Linked DNA regions of Homo sapiens: region 1 is linked to region 2. Evidence: promoter capture Hi-C in 16 types of primary human blood cells and fetal thymus (Javierre and others, 2016). All regions are on one chromosome and are shown on one strand. The core of a region is centred on a gene start or on the middle of the fragment in contact, and the rest is flanking DNA. Distances in the headings are between cores, read along the strand shown.

Region 1 (3,732 bases), core at 997-3,496, 600 kb after region 2:
TATGGGAGTTGCATATGAGATGGGTCTCCCGAAGACAGCATACAGTTCAGTGTTTCACTTGTCTATACAACTGGACGCTCTTTTTTTTTTTTTTTTTTTTTTTTTTTGAGATGGAGTCTCGCTCTGTCGCCCAGGCTGGAGTGCAGTGGCGCGATCTTGGCTCACTGCAAGCTCCGCCTCCTGGGTTCACGCCATTCTCCGGCTTCAGCCTCCCGAGTAGCTGGGACTACAAGTGCCCGCCACCACGCCCAGCTAATTTTTTGTATTTTAGTAGAGACGGGGTTTCACCGTGTTAGCCCGGATGGTCTTGATCTCCTGACCTGGTGATCCGCCCGCCTTGGCCTCCCACAGTGCTGGGATTACAGGCGTGAGCCACGGCGCCTGGCAGCTCTTTTAATAATAAACGACTTTTATGTGCTGTGTTTAGCCTGTTTACATTCAAGGTTAATATTAATACGTGTAGATATGATCCTGCCATTGTGTTCTTGCTTGGTTGTTATGCAGACTTGATTGTGTAGTTGCTTTATAATGTCAATGGTCTATGTACTTGAGTGTGTTTTTTGGTGGCTGTTAGTGATCTTTCATTTCTATGTTTAGGACTCCCTTCAGGACCTCTTGTAAGGCAGGTCTGGTAGTAACAAATTCCTTGAACATTTGCTTGTCTGAAGGGATCTTATTTCTCCTTTCCTTATGAAGCTTAGTTTGGCTGGATATGAAATATATAGGGATACTGGTTGGAATTTCATGTCTTTAAGAATGTTGAATATTGGCTCCCAATTGTTTCTGCCTTGTAAAGTTTCTCCTGAAAAACCTGCTGTTAGTCTGATGGGATTCCCTTTGTAGGTGACCTGCCTTTTCTTTCTAGCTGACTTTAATATTTTTTCTTTCATGTTGACCTTGGAGAATCTGATGACTATGTGTCTTGGGGGTGGTTGTCTTTTATGGTATCTCATAAGAATTCTCCGTGTTTCCTGAATTTGAATATTAAACTCTCTAGCAAGGTTAGGGAATTTTTTGTGCTCAATATCCTCCAATATGTTTTCAATGTTGCTTACTCTCTCTCCCCCTCTTTCAGGGACATCAATGAGTCATAGGTTTGGTCTTTTTACATAATCCCATATTTCTCAGAGGTTTACTTCATTCATTTTTCTTTTTTTTCCATTCTTTTTTTGTCTGACTGAATTGATTCAAAAATAAGTGTTCAAGCTCTGAGATTATTTTCTCATTGATTATGCTGTTAATACTTCTGATTACATTATGACATTGTTGAGGTTAGTTTTTCAGCTCTATCAGATCAATTTTGTTCTTTCATAAAATAGCTATTTCATTTTTCAGCTAATGTGTCATTTTATTGGATTCATCAGATTCCTTAGATTGACTTTCAGCTTTCTTCCGAATCTTGATAGTGTTTGTTTCTAACCTGTTTCTGAATTCTATGTCTATCATTTCAGCCGCTTCAGCCTGGTTAAGAATCATTGTTGGGAAGCTAGTGTGTTCATTTGGTGCTAAGAAGGCACTCTGACTTTTTAAGTTGCCAGAGTTCTTTCACTGGTTCTTTCTCATCTCTGTGGTCTGAGGTTTCTTTAATCTTTTAAGCTGATGTCTTTTGGAAGGGTTTTTTGCTTTTATATTCTATGCCCTTGAGGGTTTCACTGTTACATAAGCTGGGTTCAGGAGACTGGCTTCATTTATGGAATATTTCAGGGGGCTAAGATTCAGCTCAGTATTTCTGGGCTGCGTGTTGTAGGCCTGTGGTGCTGGAATTAAGCCCAGAGCTTTGGTTTTTGACCCCTTAAGGTTAAAGCACCTGCTACACCAGAGGGGCTGAGGCGTTCCCAATTCCACTGGCAACAACACTGCAATGGGGAATGCCAGCCAAAGTACTTTTTCCAAATGGTGGCATTGGGGTACATGCTCAGAAGCATGTGCCAATAATGGCAATGTGGCAGTTTCCATACATATGTTTGTGCTAGCTTTTTTATTATTATATAGTAAACTTCTTTGCCTCTTTTTATAGTTATTGTCTTGAAATATATTTTATCTGATATAGATATAGCTACTCCTGATCTTTTCTGGTTTTCACGTGCATGAAACATCTTTTTGTTATCTCTTCACTTTCAATCTATATGTCTTTTTAGGGGAGGTGTGTTTCTTGTAAGTGACAGATCATTGGGTCTTATTTTTATATTCATTCAGCTACTCTATGTCCTTTGATTGGTGAGTTTACATCATTTACATTCAATGTTATTGTTGATAACTAAGTACTGGCTCCTGCCATGTATTTGTTTTCTGGTTGTTTTGTGGTCTTCTCTTCATTTGTTTCTTCTTTCCTGTCTTCTTTTTAGTAAAGGTGATTTTCCCTGATAACGTGTTTTCATTTCTTGTTTGTTATTTTTGTGTATCTGTTGTATGTGTTTGTATTTAAAGTTACTACGTTGCATATGTTTGTATTTAAAATTACTATGCATGAGGCTTGCAAATAATATCTTATACTGATGACAACATAACACTGATTGCCTAAGCAAACAAACCAAAAAAAAACAGAGAAAACTAGTAAAAATCTTATATTTTAACATTGTCCACCTACCTTTCAACTTTGTGTCATTTCTATTTATATCTTAGGCACTGTCTATGTCTTGAAAAGCTGTAGTTTTTTTTTTAATTGGTTCATCTTTTAGTCTTTATAAGTAGTTTACACGCCGTAATCACAGTATTATAATATTGTGTTTTTCTTCGCACTATTATCAGTTAGTTTTGCACCTGCAGATAATTTCTTATTTCTCATTAATGTTCTTTTCTTTCATGCTGAAAAATTATCTTTTGCATTTCTTCTAGGACAGGTCTGGTGTTGAGGAAGTCCCTCATATTTTGTTTGTCTGGGGAAGTCATTATTTCCCTTTCATGTTTGAAGGGTATTTTCACTGAGTACACTATTCTAGTATTAACGTTTTTTTTTTTAGCATTTTAAATATGTCATGCTGCTCTCTCATGACCTGTAAGATTTGCACTGAAAAAGTCTGCTGCTAGACTATATTGGTGGTCCATGGTATGTTATCTGTTTCTTTTGCTGCTTTTAGAATCCTTTCTTTATCCTTGAAATTTTGATTTATCCTTGAAGTTTGATTATTGTCTTGATGTAGTCTTCTTTGACTTAAATATGCTTGGTATTCTATAATCTTCTTTTACTTGAATATTGATATCTTTCTCTAAGTTTGGGAATTTCTCTATTATCATAGCTTTGAATAAACTTTCAGCCCTATCTCTCTCTCTACCTCCTCTTTAAGGTCAATAACTCTTAAAGTTGCCCTTTTGAGGCTATATTCTAGATCTTGTATTTGTGCTTCATTAATTTTTATCCTTTTGTCTCCTCTGGTGGTGTATTTTCAAATAGCCTGTCTTCAAGCTTACTGATTCTTCTGCCTCATCAATTGTGAGGTTGAAACCCTGATGCATTCGTCAGAATGTCAATTGCATTTTCAGCTCCAAAATTTCTGCTTGATTGTTTTTAATTATTTAGCTCTCTTCCGGATTCTGAATTTCTTGGCTGTGTTGTCTTGAATTTTGTTGAGTTTCTTCAAAACAGATATTTTGAGTTCTGTGTCTGAAATGTCACACATCTCTCTCTCTCTCTCTGGGATTGGCCTCTGGTGCTTTATTTGGTTCATTTGGTGAGGTCATGTTTTCCTGAATGGTCTTGAGACTTGTGGATGTTTGCCTGTGTCTGGGCATTGA
Region 2 (4,242 bases), core at 1,418-3,917:
TAGTGGTGACACAACCACTATTGCTAAGAGGAAATGCAATTCAGAGGTGGTTCTGAGGTTCCTGCATGGAGATGTGTGGATAGTAGCACTTCATTTCTGAGTTTATGGAACATGGATGTGGGAGCAGAGTTGAGAGGGGGAAAGATAATGAGCTTAGTTTTGAATATGGTTTATCTGTAGACTTTCTAATGGCTCCTTGGCAGGGTATTAATTATATTAGTCTGGAGCTCCGAGGAGAAGTTGAGGCAGGAGTGATTATTCTTTTTCTTCTGCTAAACACATTATAAATGGTTTATGAGATAACTTTTTTGTTTTTTATTTTTAAATTTTATTTATCCTTTATTTATAACATATGTATGTATGTTGGAGTCTCGCTGTGTCGCCCAGGCTGGAGTGCAGTGGTGCGATCATAGCTCACTGCAGCCTCAAACTCATGGTTGCAAGTGATGCTCTCACCTTGGCCTCCTGGGTCGCTGGGATGATAAGCATGAGCTACCATGCCTGGCTGTGAGATAACTTTAAAGCATTCTAGCTTTCTATTGTAGATTCTAGCTTTCTGTTATAGAAAACCGTATTGTGGAAAAGATTTCCAGTTGCCTACCTGTTTTAAGATGTACCTGGGACTTGCCTTAATCATGTATGGTAGGAGACAACTGCTTTAATCATGTCACGGAGACAGCTGCTTTAATCATGTCACACAGACAACTGCTTTGAAAGAAGAGTCTTTTATTTCACAGTTCCCAATAGGAGGTTGCATGCTATGCCATGCAAGGCCACTCAGGGATGCACTGGAGTTGGTCAGGAGGAAGAAGGAGGGGGGAAAACATAAGCCAGAGGCTTTGTTGTGTTTTTCATAGGGAAGCAATGAGTAAGGCACCAGTGGAAAGCTAAGCAAGGTTAGGATTGGGTAGTTTGAATAATTTCAGCAGGCTGCAGGTTCTCAAGATGGTCCCTAGTTATCAGGTGCCTGGCCCTGGGGTGATTGAAGGCAAGGTCATAGTGTCCTGGGCTCGTTTTCTACCTAAGCAAAGGAGGTAGATGGGAGGGGCAGTGTGGATTCAGGATTGGCTGGTTTGCTTATCAAAGGAGTTTTCTCAGGCAAGTTGGCTAACTCCAGGAATTAGCTAACCTTGGGAGGGCATGCCCTCTCTGGGTCTGCAAGGCCCAAAAGTGTCAAAGCATAAAATACAGAAAATAAACATGATTAATGCACTACCCAGTATCTATTGTCCCTTCTGTATTTATAGAACCCAGATGTGACAGGGTGCACAGCACATGTACTGCATTCCTGTTCTTTTCAGTTAGGGGTTGCCAAGGGGCTATAGGCAGAAGTCACTTGGTGATGCTCTCAGGGAACTTTCTATATGAGTTACTCTTGGGAGGCGTATCCTGTGTGCTTCCCCAGACTCTCGTCCTACAGCATTTTCTTTTTTGTCTGAAATGTGGACATTTCATGGCTGGATTTCCAGTTGCCATCTTGGACCATGAGGCAGTCTTCAGAATGGAAGGTAGAAGAAGCTGGGATCTGCAATCACTATGCAACCACCATACCAGCCTGGACAGTTTGCCTCTGGACTGCTTTGGGAGACAAAAATATACCTCTCCTCTAAGCCATTTACTTGTGTTGTGTACTTAAACCTAATTCTTTCTTATTCATATATTGTTGACTTTATCTCCGTATACATGAGCAACTCTTTACTCTTATCTTTCTCTTACATGACCTTTCACGGCAAGTAGAAGTAAAATCTTTTCTTTATTCCCACAATCCTTTAGGTTTTAAACTAATGTCTCATTAAATTTAGGGAAGGGAGTAGGACATAAAAAGTATACAAACCTTAGCAATTAGCTTTAAAAAGAGTCAACATAAGCATACTTTAATACAAACTACGTACTGCTTAATTCTGCATATAGTCCTGAATGAAGATCCTTAATTAATAGCCGCTTGTTAAATAGAGGAGCTCTTAGGTTAAGAACAGAAGTATTGTTCTTATGCCTCCCTGGACAGTATTATAGCAGACTAGCAATCCAGAGTGGGTCTGAGACTTCCCACTGCAAGTCCAAGTTCGGGATGTAAGCTTGGCCACTTTCTGGTGAGGCTTCTCTTGCTAGCTTATAGCTTACAGCCATCTCTCTGCATGTAAGCCAGGCTCCAAGGGGCATGCCTTTTAATTCTAATCCATGATCAATGGCACTGAACTTTTACAATTTTATGCACTTAAACCTCACTCCAGGTGGATAGTGGCTCCTAGTGGAATTCCTTTTCTGTATCTCTGAGTCCTCCCTCCTGAGGAATGAGACTTTTTACTCTTCTGAGTAATTCTGAGCCGCCTCCATTTGGTGCCGCTCATCTTTCTGTTTTGGGTAACTCAGAGCCCTACACCCTTTGAAACTGAGTCCAAGTCCTCCATCATCTTTGTGACCTAGATCTCTTCCTTCTCTATGTGACACTGGACACTACTCATTTGCATTTTAGCAAAGAGCTGCAAAGTTTAGGTTCATTGATGGAATATGACAATCCATATCATCTGTGAAGAGGACAGACTAACCTGAAAGAGCCAGAGAGGATTTCCTAAATTGTGCTCTACGACAGACTAAATTGGGCAGAGACAAGAGACAGGTACAGTGAAGCAACAGGTAGAGGAGTAGATTAACGAGAAAAATATCACATCAGTGAGGAGATTCTATGTATCAACAGAAAGAACAAAGATCAGGGCTGCCTAATTGCTGACATGATGGGACTCACCGAGGGGGTGTTCCTGATTCTGTCTGGCACTCAGTTCACACTGGGAATTCTGGTCAATTGTTTCATTGAGTTGGTCAATGGTAGCAGCTGGTTCAAGACCAAGAGAATGTCTTTGTCTGACTTCATCATCACCACCCTGGCACTCTTGAGGATCATTCTGCTGTGTATTATCTTGACTGATAGTTTTTTAATAGAATTCTCTCCCAACACACATGATTCAGGGATAATAATGCAAATTATTGATGTTTCCTGGACATTTACAAACCATCTGAGCATTTGGCTTGCCACCTGTCTTGGTGTCCTCTACTGCCTGAAAATCGCCAGTTTCTCTCACCCCACATTCCTCTGGCTCAAGTGGAGAGTTTCTAGGGTGATGGTATGGATGCTGTTGGGTGCACTGCTCTTATCCTGTGGTAGTACCGCATCTCTGATCAATGAGTTTAAGCTCTATTCTGTCTTTAGGGGAATTGAGGCCACCAGGAATGTGACTGAACACTTCAGAAAGAAGAGGAGTGAGTATTATCTGATCCATGTTCTTGGGACTCTGTGGTACCTGCCTCCCTTAATTGTGTCCCTGGCCTCCTACTCTTTGCTCATCTTCTCCCTGGGGAGGCACACACGGCAGATGCTGCAAAATGGGACAAGCTCCAGAGATCCAACCACTGAGGCCCACAAGAGGGCCATCAGAATCATCCTTTCCTTCTTCTTTCTCTTCTTACTTTACTTTCTTGCTTTCTTAATTGCATCATTTGGTAATTTCCTACCAAAAACCAAGATGGCTAAGATGATTGGCGAAGTAATGACAATGTTTTATCCTGCTGGCCACTCATTTATTCTCATTCTGGGGAACAGTAAGCTGAAGCAGACATTTGTAGTGATGCTCCGGTGTGAGTCTGGTCATCTGAAGCCTGGATCCAAGGGACCCATTTTCTCTTAGAGTAACAGAGGGCATGGGGTGGAGCCCTTGAGCCTTTTGGCCTGGCTCAAGACTACAGGACTCTTCCTGACCTTCCTATGTTACCAGTTCCATAACATCAGTAGGAGAGAAACACTGACTGCTTTGCCCCTGGTCCCTGGGCACTTGTTCCAAGGTGAAAGCCACGCTTCTCACAGCCTCTCTCTGTATGGTGGTTGCGGAGGTGGGGAGGGTGCAGGAGTAGTAGTCTTGGAAATGACCATGTCGTAAGAACACTCTCACTATAAACATATGGTGCTGTATTTTAATAATCATCAGCTCGACATAATGAGTCTGATTACTAGTTTCAACTTAAATTAGATACTAACAGTGATAAACATAAAATTACATAGTAGACTTGAAGGAAAGAGCAAAAGCTTTGCAGTCCTATAGATGTGGGTTTGAATTCTGATTCTGGCCAAGATTTTTGGCCTCTGGTGAGTTACTTTAATTACCTGTCTGATTCCCTCTTCTGATCCCTACTGGCCATTTTAGCACAGTGTGTTGTGTACAGTACTCAGTAAGTGAAGGCTATTATTGCGCT

The links. The method cuts DNA at HindIII sites, captures the fragments that hold promoters and counts their contacts. A CHiCAGO score of 5 or more calls a contact.
Region 1: a fragment that was not itself captured here is called in contact with the fragment with the promoter of TAS2R3 in region 2 in 1 of 17 cell types (neutrophils); the score reaches 5.2 in neutrophils.

The regions. Positions count from the first base shown.
Region 1 is chr7:142,360,991-142,364,722 of GRCh38, forward strand. It overlaps TRB. Among named protein-coding and RNA genes, the nearest start is that of PRSS58, 100 kb to the left of the region's middle. The HindIII fragment of the contact is 3,097 bases long and covers 699-3,732 here.
Region 2 is chr7:141,761,430-141,765,671 of GRCh38, forward strand. It overlaps TAS2R3 (taste 2 receptor member 3), which reads left to right and starts at 2,668. Exons shown (of 1, transcript NM_016943.2): 1 at 2,668-3,768. The coding sequence starts at 2,730. The coding sequence ends at 3,680. The HindIII fragment of the contact is 2,000 bases long and covers 2,074-4,073 here.